3 separate regions of the Homo sapiens genome follow, and all the other regions are linked to region 2. Evidence: promoter capture Hi-C in human tissues and cell types (Jung and others, 2019). All regions are on one chromosome and are shown on one strand. The core of a region is centred on a gene start or on the middle of the fragment in contact, and the rest is flanking DNA. Distances in the headings are between cores, read along the strand shown. Region 1 has its middle 34 kb from the start of OR8B8. Region 2 holds the start of OR8B4 (olfactory receptor family 8 subfamily B member 4). Region 3 has its middle 18 kb from the start of OR8B2.

What was found. Contacts are between HindIII fragments. The study calls those that stand out against the background at their distance.
Region 1: a fragment that was not itself captured here is called in contact with the fragment with the promoter of OR8B4 in region 2 in 1 of the 25 tissues and cell types used here (liver).
Region 3: a fragment that was not itself captured here is called in contact with the fragment with the promoter of OR8B4 in region 2 in 2 of the 25 tissues and cell types used here (aorta and psoas muscle).

What each region holds. Positions count from the first base shown.
Region 1 is chr11:124,477,103-124,481,605 of GRCh38, forward strand. It overlaps the pseudogene OR8B9P. Among named protein-coding and RNA genes, the nearest start is that of OR8B8, 34 kb to the left of the region's middle. The HindIII fragment of the contact is 5,845 bases long and covers 1-4,503 here.
Region 2 is chr11:124,421,966-124,426,479 of GRCh38, forward strand. It overlaps OR8B4 (olfactory receptor family 8 subfamily B member 4), which reads right to left and starts at 2,906. Exons shown (of 1, transcript NM_001005196.1): 1 at 1,977-2,906. The coding sequence starts at 2,906. The coding sequence ends at 1,977. The HindIII fragment of the contact is 10,487 bases long and covers 1-4,514 here.
Region 3 is chr11:124,364,556-124,368,854 of GRCh38, forward strand. It overlaps the pseudogene OR8B1P. Among named protein-coding and RNA genes, the nearest start is that of OR8B2, 18 kb to the right of the region's middle. The HindIII fragment of the contact is 4,114 bases long and covers 15-4,128 here.

The sequences.
Region 1 (4,503 bases), core at 896-3,395, 54 kb after region 2:
AAAGGTATGAAATTCCACTTCGAAACAAGAAAAGCATGTCTGTTTTCCTCATTACTATTCACCATTGTAATGGGAGAATACAGCACTTTGGCTCCATGTCAACTTCTCTCAAATTAGTCCCACTAAATTATTGTCACTTGATCTTCAAATACACACGTACAAATATAGCCAATACAATTCAGGGAGGAGAGAAGGTCTTTTCAATAAATGATGCTGATGCAACTTAATATCTTTATGAAAGAAATAAAACAACTGCACACCATACATGATAACTGATTTAAAATTGATCTAAAATCTAAATTTTAAAGGAAAAATCATGAAGCTTTCAAAGGAAAACCTGAGAATGACTTTGTGACTATGTAGTAGGAAAAAAATTAAACAGAAGAAAGCATGAACAGTAAAAGAAGTGGACAAATGAACTTTATTCAAATTGAAATTGAAATATCATTATCAAAGGACATAATTAATGAGTAGTCATGGGGCAAGCCAGAGACTGAGTAAAGATAACTGCAATGTGTGTGTCTGAAAAAGTACTCATATCCAGATTATACGTTTTAAAAAACTAATCAATAAGAAAAAAGAATAACAACACTTTTTTTTTTTTTTTTTGAGATGGAGTCTCACTCTGTCGCCCAGGCTGGAGTGCAGTGGCGCGATCTCGGCTCACTGCAACCTCCGCCTTCTGGGTTCATGCCATTCTCCTGCCTCAGCCTCCCAAGTAGCTGGGACTACAGGTGCCCACCACCACACCAGGCTAATTTTTTTGTATTTTTAGTAGAGACGGGGTTTCATCATATTAGCCAGGATGGTCTCGATCTCCTGACCTCTTGATCCGCCTATCTTGGCCTCCCAAAGTGCTGGGATTACAGGTGTGAGCCACCGTGCCCAGCAACAACACTATTTTTAAGTAGCCAAATGACTTGAACAGGCACTTCACAAATGGTGATGTCCAAATAGCTAATGAACATATAAAAAGTGCCCAACAAGGCTGGGTGTGGTGGCTCACACCTGTAATCCCAACACTTTGGGAGGCCAAGATGAGAGGATCACTTGAGCCCAGGTATTTGGTAACAGCCTGGGTAACATAGTGAGACCTCATCTCTACAAAAAATAGAAAAAGTGGCCAGGTGTGGTGGCATGTACCTATAGTTCCAGTTGCTCAGCAGGCTGAGACAGGAAGATAGCTTGAGCCCAGGAGTTCAAAGCTCCAGTGAGCCATGATCACACCATCGCACTCCAGCCTGACAACAGAGCAAGACTTTGTCTGTTAAGAAAAGGTCAGGAGTTCGAGGCCAGCCTGGCCAACATAGTGAAACCCCGTCTCTAGTAAAACTACAAAAATTAGCCAGGTGTGGTGGCAGGCTCCTGTTACCCCAGCTACTCGGGAGGCTAAGGCAGGAGAATTGCTTGAACCTGGAAGGTGAAGGTTGCTGTGAGCCGAGATCATGCCACTGCACTCCAGCCTAGGCGACAGAGCAAGACTCCGTCAAAAAAAAAAAAATCATTATTTATCAGGGAAATATCTAAAAGACTAAAGCAATACTGTACTACACACCCAACGGAGTAATTAAAATGAAAAATACTGAAAATAAGGATGAAGAGTATCCTTTTCTGGAATTTATTGATGGGAGTGCAAATCAGTTTAAATATTTTGGAAGACAATTTGATAGCATTTAGAAGCCTAAACATATGCCTACCTTGTGACCCATAAAATCTACATCTAGGTATATACCCAAACAAAAATAAGTGTATATTTCCAGCAAAATACATGTTCAAGAATGTTTATAGGCCAGGCATGGTGGCTTATGCCTGTAATCCCAGCACTTTGGGAGGCCGAAGCAGACAGATCACGAGGTCAGAAGTTGGAGGCCAGCCTGGGCAACATGGTGAAACCCTGTCTCTACTAAAAATACACAAATTGGCTGTGTGTGGTGGTGGGTGCCTGTAATCCCACCTACTTTGGAGGCTGAGGCAGGAGAATGATTTGAACCCGGGAAGTGGAGGTTGCAGTGAGCCGAGATCGTGCCATTGCACTCCAGCCTGGGCAACAGTGCGAGACTATGTCTCAAAAAAAAAAAAAAAGGAATGTTTATAACAGCTTTATTAATAACATGTAGAAATTGAAAACAAGGCAAATGTCCATAAAGAAGATATTGATAAGCAAATTGCTCTACATTCTTACAATGGAATACTAAAATAAACAGCAATAACCAAGAAAACTGTTATGGATGAATCTCACATGACTCTCTATGTTAAGTGAAACGTAAGAAAGTAAATGCACTATTTAACATTTATATGAAGTTCAAGCACGAGAAAAATGAAACTGTGATGATAAAGTAAGAATAGTGAATATTTCCAGGAAGAGCATGGGGAGTAGTAATTACTGGGAAAGGGCAGGCAGGAGTACCCTGAAATGATAAAAAATCTGCTATATTTTCATTTGGGTGGAGGTAAGTAATCATAGCCTTATAAATGTGAAAAAAAATCATCGAGCAGTTAATGTTTGTGCACTTCACTGTAAAATTTATATTTCAATTTAAGAAGGAGTAGGGTGTTTTCATTGTACTGATTCTCCACCATTCCCAGTGCACCCTCAATCCATGTGTCTTGAATTTCATCATCATTCATCTCCCTTAGCATCAAAACACAACCCTCCCCTACACTTTCATTTCCTGAATTCTATCCTCGTTAAACCAAAAGATTCCAAAGGAAGAAAGCTAAACATTAATCCGAACTTCCCCTTTTTCTAATAGAAGATAACTTTTCAAAGTTTGTAAATTAAACTATCTTCCAGACAGTTCATATGCCATGACTTCTGAAATAATTGTTACCATTACTAATGTATTCAGATCAAAAAAATTACTCTCATTCGTTATACAAAGTTGTACTTCCACTTACCCAATGCTGTGAATATATGACCTCTCCTAAGACCACCGTCCCTTCCCTTTATGCCCTATTGTTATTAATAGAAGGTCACAGATATATGCAATGTCTTAACTATATAATGGCAATTGCCTCCCCTAACAACTAGTTGGCTGCCGTGGTTCTAATGGCTCACTTATCCAGAGCTGTCTATTACTAATTTACATTATTCAGACCTTTGAGGTGAGGCTCCAAATTCTGTCTCCGTTAATCTTCAGATGAAGAATAAAGCTTGTATCTAACAAATTTAACTCCCTCAACTCTGTTTATCTCTCCCTTAGAAGGCCTTCTATTGTAAGCCTTCACTCAAGGCTCTATACCATCTCCATGGGCACCATCCTTGATTCTATAAGGAACCTAATCTACTTCTCACTCACACACCCCAAAATTCTTTAAAATTTTCTCTTATCTTTTTGTCAAGACCACATCAACCACATTTTTCACTTCCAACACTCTTGCAAAAATGTTATTCCAAAAATTAACCTTTGAAAAGTTGCATGACATCACTATGAATATAATTAGATATCTTTAAATGCAAAAAAAAAAATTTTAAATGAAATCAGTCAGGGAAACGATGGAACAAGGAAGTGTAGCTGAAGAAAAACACAGCAGATTGTATTAAAATTCAAGAGCCTGGACTCTAGTTTCAGCTCTGGCATCAGGTACATGTGTGTCCTTTGGCAGCCTACAAAATATTTTTGAGTGTGATGTATTGCATGAGGAGACTGGAGTAAATGATTTCATAAGCCTATTCAAGATTAAACCCTGTATAACAGTAGAAACTATTCTCATAAAATAACAATTGGAATAGTTGGTGTGGATAAGCAGTGCAGGGTGTAAGTGCACTTAAGAATACATTTAAAATTTTTCTCTAAGTATAGGAGAGAAAGCAGTGGCATTTGTTCCCTCACTGAAAAAAAGAAAAGAAACCCCCTGATTAACAAAGGTTTGGATTCCCTTTCTCATTCATTTTTAAGAGACTAATTTTCTGCAAAAGGTTCTCCTCAGGGCAACTTTGACATCTTTATTCCTCAGGCTGTAGATTAATGGGTTAAACATGGGCACCACAGCAGTACAAAAAATGGAGGACACTTTCCCCTGGTCCAGGGGTAGAATAGAAGGTGGTTTGAGGTACATGAAAGCACCTGACCCAAAGAAAAGCGATACCACAATTATGTGGGAACTGCAGGTACTGAAGGCTTTAGACCTGCCCTCTGTGGAACTAATGTGGAGAATGCTGGAAAGAATAAAACCATAAGAGAGAAAAATGGTGACAATCGGCACCCCAATGCCAACGGTCACAATAATAAAAACCACCAGCAAATTTATGTAAGAGCTGTTGCAGGAGAGCTCAAGGAGAGGAAGGATGTCACACATATAGTGATTGACAAGGTTGTCTCCACAAAAGGACATAAACATTATGTTTCCCATATGAGCCACAGCCCCAAAATCCCCATCCCATAGACACCCAGTAAAAGGAGCAAACACATCTGGGGAGACATGGTGACCGTGTACAACAGTGGGTTACAGATGCCCACGTAGCGGTCATACGCCATCGCTGATAGAATATAGGATTCAGAA
Region 2 (4,514 bases), core at 1,656-4,155:
ACAGATCTGACACTCAGTTTCAACTTACTTCTCTGTTACTGTAATGCCACAGCCCTCAACCCTCCTTCTATTTGTTTAACACTGTGAGAACAAACAATTCCTTAACGTCAACCCAAAACAATATGCAAGATGACCCATCCTTGGTTTGAGACAGAAGTGCAGGCCTTCTGAATTTATTTAATGTTGCATTTTCTGTGGAAGCAGTAGATGCTCTTATTTGGCTTTACAAGAGCCAAGAAAAGTCTCTCTGAGTTTTTGTCATGTAAGATCCTCAGTCAAAAAGGAACTTCTTTCCAAAAGAGCCAAGCCAGTGTCTCATTAAGTCAAACATACTTTCACGGCTACTCACCCCAGTGCCAATATGGAGTGAATGCAGGGAAAGTTATTCTTGGACTTTGATGCATTGATTACATAATTGTTCCTTTCCATTCATATCCTATGCCCTGACTTAGTTCTTGTTCCCGCTCATTTATACCAATGGTAATTGTTTTTTTTTCTTTATCCGTATCAAAGTAGATTTACTTTTGTCCTTCCTTATTCTTGATTCTTTTCTAATATCCCAAGACCCCCATGGACCTAGACACAGACAGTCCACTGGAGGGTGGGATTCAGCAAGGCCCAGAGGACTGACCAGCAGTGGTTGAGTAAGGTATTAAATCAATTCCAATGAATGAATTAATATATTTAAGGTACCTCAAATGGTGCACAAACACATGGTGCAAGTTCAGTAACTGTTAAGTGTCATTATTATCATAATCAAAGCATAATCCAAGTATCAGAGTTTTTCTCCTCCAAAGATCTTCCTCTAGCAGATTTGGAGAAGATAGATAGAGTTTGTCTCACGTCTCCTGTTGGTCAGACCTGTGCTGCAGTTGCTTCTCTGCCCTGCTCTCAGCTCTCCCTCAGAATGTCTCCTGGCCACGAGCTGGAGCACTGAACTCTTCAATGTAGAACAGCAGAACCTTTAGCAGAGTAATACAGAGTGGTCTTTGGCACTCAAAATCCAGATCCCTTCCAGACTCCCTGAGAGTGGGACGTGTAATATGACTCCTCTTTCTTTCCGATTCTATATTGATTAACTGTAATACACATACAGACACACACACACACACACACACACACATATAAACATGCACACACGTTGTCAGAACTGTAAAATCTAAATCCACTTTAAAGAATAAGCAATCTTCCTAAAATCCAGTAGTGTGCTTAGTATCTCCAGAGCAAGGCAGAGGCCACATTTTACAGATCATGCAAATCCGTGGAGTTCTTCCTTGTTTCTTCTTCCAGCCTGAGTCTCCGGAGCCTAAGAAATTGGCCCAATTACACAGGATCACTTACCCCTGATTACCATTCCAAGGCCCAGAAGCTTTAGAACTTTGAAATAAAAGATTTGGATTTGATTTATCCTTACAGAGCAGATCATAGAAAATTCTTGTGTGAGGGCTTCTTTTATGTACATACATGTATATGAAAAGGAGGGTTTATGATCTTCCTGACCAAGCAACCTCCTGAAGAGCTGGATATATAATCATATTAGCACTGGCACCAAGGTATCTACCATTGATCTTTAATAAGTCTGCTTATGTAACTAAAGAGAAAACACTCCTCAACCTTTATACCACCACCTGCCCCTTGTTCCAGCCAGAAACGTTCTTGCTCAGAAAAACCCATTTAGCCTACCAAGAAAAGAATGGAAGGCATGGAGCCTCATCTTACTCATCTCTTGGGCCTAATACAGAGTTCAGTAAACAAAAGGCATTTCATAGACACTAACTTGCAGGCAGTGAGCCAATTTAATTGTTGCAAAATAATATAGTCCTCAAGGAGAGTATAGGAAAGAGATTTCCAATTTTTAAAAGTGGAGAGGAGACCCTCTTTGAGGAAAAATATTAAAATTCCTCCGCCTATAAATAGAAAGACACTTGAGTATCATGCTTACCGAGAATCGGTTGCCAGTGATATGAAGAGACCCATTAGAAGAGCACTCTCTTCAGGGTTTTGCCCAGGGCAAGTTTATCATCCTTATTCCTCAAACTGTAGATCGAAGGGTTAAGCATGGGAACCACATTGGTGTAAAAGACTGAGGCAAATCTGCCATGGTTCATAGAGCCAGGAAAAGATGTTGTTAAGTAGGTGAATGTCCCTGACCCAAAAAACAGAGCAACAGCAATTATGTGGGAGCCCCATGTGCTAAAGGCTTTGGATCTGCCCTCTGCAGAAGGAATACAGAGGATGTTGGAGAGTATCAAAGCGTAAGAGATGACGATGCTTATGCTGGATAGCATGGTGATTACTCCAACAACAATGAAAAATACCAGCTCACTGACATGGGTGCTGGTGCAGGAGAGCTGCAAGAGGGGGAGAACGTCACACAGATAATGGTCAATGACGTTGGAATCACAGAAGGTCAGTCGCAGCATGCTTCCAGTGTGGGCCATGGCCCCAGCAAACCCTACCACATAGGAACCAAACATCAGCAGAAAGCAGACCCTTGGGGACATGGTGACCATGTAGAGCAGGGGGTTGCAGATGGCCACATAGCGATCATAGGCCATTGATACCAACACATAGCACTCAGAATTGACAAAGAAACAGAAGAAAAATAGCTGAGTCATACATCCCACATAAGAGATGATACTTTCTGAAACAAAGTCATTCAGCATTTTGGGGGTAAACACACAGGAATAACAGAGATCTATAAAGGACAAGTTGAAGAGGAAAAAGTACATGGGGGTGTGAAGGCTAGGATTTATCCCAATTAAGGTGATCAAGCCCAAGTTGCCCACCACAGTGAACACATAGATCCCTAAGAATAGAAGGAAAAGAGGGAGCTGGAGCTCTGGCTGTTCTGATAATCCCACAAGGATAAACTCAGTCACTGAGGAGCTGTTTCTCAGAGTCATTCTCTCTTGGCGAGCTGTCTGGGGAAGCAGAGGGCAAAACACAAAGAGTCATGACAGGCACAAGCATGGCTAAGGGAAGAAGACTCTAGTGGACCAGCCAGTGTGCAGATGCCCTCTCTTCCATCCTCCCTCATCTACACACCTCCCCACCCTGAGGTATTAACAACGTGTCTGTGAGAGGATCTCAGCTCTGCTGGGCCGATCATGAATTCAAGCTAGCATCTGTTACCATGGGCAGCAAGAATTCCGTCTCTGCTTGAGAGATGACGAGGGAGACAACACACCTGAATTGGCTGCCCAGGGACTCTCAGAAAGACACCCTGAGAACCAAGAGTACAACCTGGGCCGCTGCCTCAAGAGCTGAGAGACCAGAGCTCTCAAGGTCACCAGGATGCCCTCCCATTCTCTGCCTCCGTCTCCCAACTAGATAGTGGATTTCCATCTGGAGAGAAAGCCAAGAGTGTTACCTGCTGGCTCTTTACATCCCACCCGCCTCCTCGAAGACCCTCCATTCCATCTCACCTCAGGGTCAGTGTTGAGAGCAGAGACGGGATCCATACTTCCCAGAGCCCTTGGTTGTGGGTTTCAAAGAGACCATCAGGAAAGACAGGATTCGGACCTTCACCTTCCTTCTCCCGGGCCCCACTCAGTGCTGGGCCTTACGCCATCTCTTTTTCCATTAGCCAGAAAGAGAAAATGGTGCTGCTTGTGCAGAAAGCACACAGCCTTGCGTATTACCTCTTTTGACTCCCTTGGTGCTGAGAATCAGAGCTTTTACAGACCCCAGGCTCCAAGGTGCTCAAGGAATAGACCATGGTTTCTGTTTGTGGATTTTCCCAGGTGGTCTTGACAACTTCAGGAAAAAAAACTAGGAACTCTCATTTTGACCAGAACCCCAGCTGTCATATCACAGAGGAATTTAAGCTGCTTGACGATCTCAGGGACCTGATTAGACACAGTTTCCCCTGGGAATTTCTCCAAGATCTGTCTCTATAGGGAAGGAATTGCACTGTCTTTGTTTACAGCCTGGATAACGGTGCTTACCTAGCATCTTGGGAGTGGGGGTTCCACTCAAACTTTCCCTCTACTCCAGGGATTTCATGTTATTCAGTGCTGAGTTTGGGGACTCATTTTTTCCTTTCTCATTAACTCTCAGAGCCTAAGCTTGAATTTAAGAGTGAATAGCCCCAACCTAAGCCACCATCTCCAAATCTTCACAGGGAGCTATGAGAGTAGGACCCCTCAGAAAAGGTCAGATCAGATCTACAGAGAGCACCTCAGATAAAAGGCTTCTTGGACCATGCGCTGCTCAGAACAGAAACCACACCACCTCCACCACAAACACCACCTACTCGCAGCTCTAATAAGGGCCGCAGACAGGCCTTTACTATATATGAAGAGATTAAAATATCACAACACATATGCTAGAAAGCACACACACACACACACACACACACACACACACACACACACACCCCTACACAGAGTTACTCTCTAGGCATGCAGGCTTAAGGTATAATGGGAGATGGATGTAAGGGTCTAATCCTGCCATTATTCAGATGACAAAGCTGCTCTCCATATGATCTGCTAGATGAATATTTTAAGAAA
Region 3 (4,299 bases), core at 822-3,321, 58 kb before region 2:
TCATCTTCCAACTATCCTAGCCTCAAAGGCCAGATCTGTCCCAACAACAAGAATCATCCAGTTGTTTTTCTAAACAAAAGATAAAGCAGCAACAACTTGGAGAAAGATTTATGTATCATCCAAAGAGAAAGCACATTCAAATTTTAAAATAGAAATATTTTTCATACTCATATTTGTGGAAATAAAAATAATAAAATGAAGTAGACCAAAAGCATACTTGAGAGAGTAGTAGACTTGAAATTAGGAATAAATAGTATATTCTAGACTTTTTTATTATGAAACTCTGTAAATTTGTAAATTTAAGTAAGTTATTAACTTCTCTGAGCATCGGTATCGTCTCCGTACAATAAATACATATTAGCAATTGAGTTTGTGCTGTTTGGGTATACAAAGGTAAATAAGAAATATCTACCAAAAGAAGGTAAATGCATGGTATGCAGCTGCAAAACAGGTTATATTGGATGATCATTATGGAGCCTTTTATATCTGTGACACTGGCTTTTGAAGGGAACACATTCCTGCCATTGGATGATGTACAAGCAGAAGTAAAACAAAATTATCTGATTCAAGCTTCCAGTGGGATATTATGAGTAGAAAATAAGAAACCCCACACCAATGAATTAAATTCTCATATGTACCCTGAAAATACATACATCTATTATGTACCAATACAATAATAACATTTTTAAAAAGAAAACCCACACCCAGTGAGTGGCACAGTGTCACCCTAGTTCTACTTTACCTGATTCTTTGCATAACAATTCGTCTTTCGCCAGAAGAGAAAGGAAGTCCATAATGGAAAAGAAAAAACATAGAAATAAATTTCTTCCTTAATGTTATTCCTAAACTGAAAACATGGTGAAAAGATTTTTTTTAATAGTGAAAATTATAGAGAAAAGAAGAAATCTATTCCAGAAAAATTATAATCAATTTAAAGAAGACTCAGTTTTTTTTACCATGGTAAAAAGAAATAGGATAAGAAGGCTGCTACTATAATATTATAATTAAACAAACAGAATATCCCTGTCTTGTGACTATACACACAGACACATACTATTACTTATCAAAGTTTCCTACTACTCAGGGCTTTTCTTAGGGCAAATTTAACATCTTTGTTCCTCAGGCTGTAGATTAAGGGGTTCAACATGGGAACCACATTTGTATAAAAGACAGAAGATAATTTTCTCTTATCCATGGACCCAGCAGAAGATGGGTTGAGATACATAAATGCACCTGATCCAAAGAACAGAGAAACAGCAATTATATGGGAACTGCAAGTGCTGAAAGCTTTGGACCTGCCCTCCTTGGAACTGATATGGAGGATGCTGGAGAGGATGAAACCATAAGAGATAAAGATGGTAACAGTGGGCACAATGATGTTGATGCCAACCACAGTGAAAACCACCAGCTCATTGATGTAGGTGCTGGTGCAGGAGAGCTGGAGCAGAGGGAGGATGTCACAGAAGTAGTGATCGATGGTGTTCGCATCACAGAAAGTCAGTCTCAGCATGCATCCAGTGTGGGCCATGGCACCAGAAAAGGCCATCAAATAGGAACCAAACATAAGGCTGGAGCACACTGTAGGAGACATGGCAATGTGATACAGAAGTGGGTTACAGATGGCCACAGCGATCATACGCCATTGACGTCAGCACATAACATTCAGAAATGACCAAAAAAAACAGAAAAAGAAAAGTTGGGTCATGCACCCCTTGAAGGAGATAATATTCTTCTCTGAAATAAAGTTCATTAGCATTTTGGGTGTAAACACAGAAGAATAACAGAGATCTATGAAGGACAAGTTAAAGAGGAAGAAGTACATGGGGGTATGAAGGTGTGAGTTCAGCCCAATTAGAGTTACCAAGCCCAAGTTTCCCAACAGAGTGACCACATAGATTACTAGAAACAGGAAGAACAGAGGGGACTGGAGATCTGGCTGATGTGTTAATCCCGCCAGAATGAATTCAGTCACGAAAGAGCCATTTCCAGGTGCCATTCTTCTTTAAGGGAATCTCTGGAAACAGGGGAAAAAAACAAACGGTTGCATTAGAGGACAACCCAGCTCTTTCCACAATGGGTCTGCCTGAGATTAGCCTAACCTGTACCCACAGAATCTGCCTTTACAGAACACCGCCAATTAACCCTAGAGAGTGAAGGCCAGTGCTGCCATATACAAGCATGACTGCTGGAAATAAGGGATAAGGGAGATGGATGGACCAGGACAGAATCGTTTTTTTCCCGTCTCATCATTTCTTCATTCATTTGAGCCCTCCCCTCACAAGTAAAATTGGAGGCAGAGGCCTAAGCGACCGACATTGGCCTCTAATGAAATTAGTCGGATGCAGTGAAAACCAAAACATTGTTTCCAATCCACTAGTAGGGGACCAGAGTCTAGGAGAGGTTACATTACTGTCCCAAGTCACAGTGAAAAAGTTATAAATCTAGGACAGAGAGGGCTCTGTCCATGGAAAGGGAACTTACTCAGTAAATACTGCAACCATTGAGCTTACTAGTGTCCCTGAACATTCTCTGCTCCCCCTTCAAACACATTCTCCAATTTCATTTGAGTTTCAGGATTGCTCAAAATGAGGGGAAATGGTGGATTTTAGATCCCTGGACTTCCGTCTCAATAAAAGAAAACACTAATGTAAATAGAATTCAGAAACTCACCATTCTTAGTCCAGAATACCTTGATGCTTCTTTCACTTTCTTATTTCCCTGTGATTCTGGAAAAGTAATTTCGGGTGTCCAGGTATTTGTTCCTTTGATTCTAAGAACATACAGTCCAGACTTAATTTCTTGTATGTCTTTATGTGTGATTATGACTTTGATTCCCCTCAAGCAGTAGAGAAAAAATGAAGTCTTGATTACTACGCGTTTAGTCGCTTGCTAAGACATAGTAGATTTAATATTAGTTTAATGATATAATGTGCTTGGTTATAAAAAGGGTAGAAGCTTACTCAGCCCCCCTCCCCAGGGAACAGATTCTGGCTGTAATAGAAAATAACGGAACTGTATTTACACCCTGCATCATGATCTGTCTTTACTTCCTTAGGGATTCAATATTTTTACTCAAGTTTTCCCTTCCCTCTAGGGCTCCTACATAATGCAAAGCAGAGCCAGAAATAAACTCCCACATCCCCACCACCTTGATCTCTGAAGGGAAATCATTGTTTTGGTTTTTTTCTGTCTTTCTTCCTTCATGCTGAGCGGAAATTTCCCATAAGGTCTACTTTGAGACTTCGTGTTTTTATGTAAAAACTTTGAAGGACCATAGTAACTCACTTCAGGTATTGTCTCTCCTAGGACATCACCAAAATAACTTTGAATGGCTTACATCACTTCTAAAGAAGGTTTTTACTTTCTCAGGTTTATAGTTTCTGAAATAGGGATACTAATAATAATATCTCATTCACTGGGTGGTGGCAATTAAATGAAATAAGTGCAATGGTAAAAACAGCCCCTGGCACATGACAAATAATCAGTAAATGTCAACTATTATTATTTGTGTTCTCATAACTTCTGGCAGATTCTCCATCAGGATTTTTCCCCTTGAATTTTTGTTTTCCTCTAAAAACTATAAGTTCTGTAAAGACAAAGATCACTTCAGACTTGTTTACTACTTTGCTTCTAATGCTAAGTACGGAGAAGAGTACATAGCAGCCCCTCTTTAAAATTATGAAAAGTATGTTATCTGGCTGAAAGTCTTCAGAATCGAATTTCCATGGTTCTCAGATGCTTAGAGGCTACAAACACAATGACCTCCATGCCTTTCTCTCAGCCACCTCACAAGTTCAGACACTCTGTAGGTTTTAACGGAACTGTGCTATTGAATTGTAGTAGCTTCTAACTGTTATTCTAGCATTTTTCCACATAGTTCCTCTTGTTTAGCCACCTATTCTGTTGCTAAAATAAGCTCTGGAAGTGCAGCTCTGCCTTCCCTAGTTTTAGAACTTCCAGTGGCTCTCCATTACCCACTGAACAATTGAAGCTATATAATAAAAGTGTAAGTTTCAAACTAATTTTCAGTCTCAGTTAAAATTAGCAAGGAAATTGAGTCAGACAGATTATAGCTGATGAGAAGCCATGAAAGAACTATTCTGATTAATTGAAGTATTTTGAGCACATATGATATTGTGTAATTTCTTATTTTTCTCAACAAATATGGGAAAAAGGATATTGGACAATGTTTATGTTTCAGAGTCTGTAAGAGTGTACAAAAAAACAAAAAACACTAGCCAGGGGAGATTACATTTAAAATTTAAGTTTAAATCTTCACAAGCTCTCCTTCTCATCATA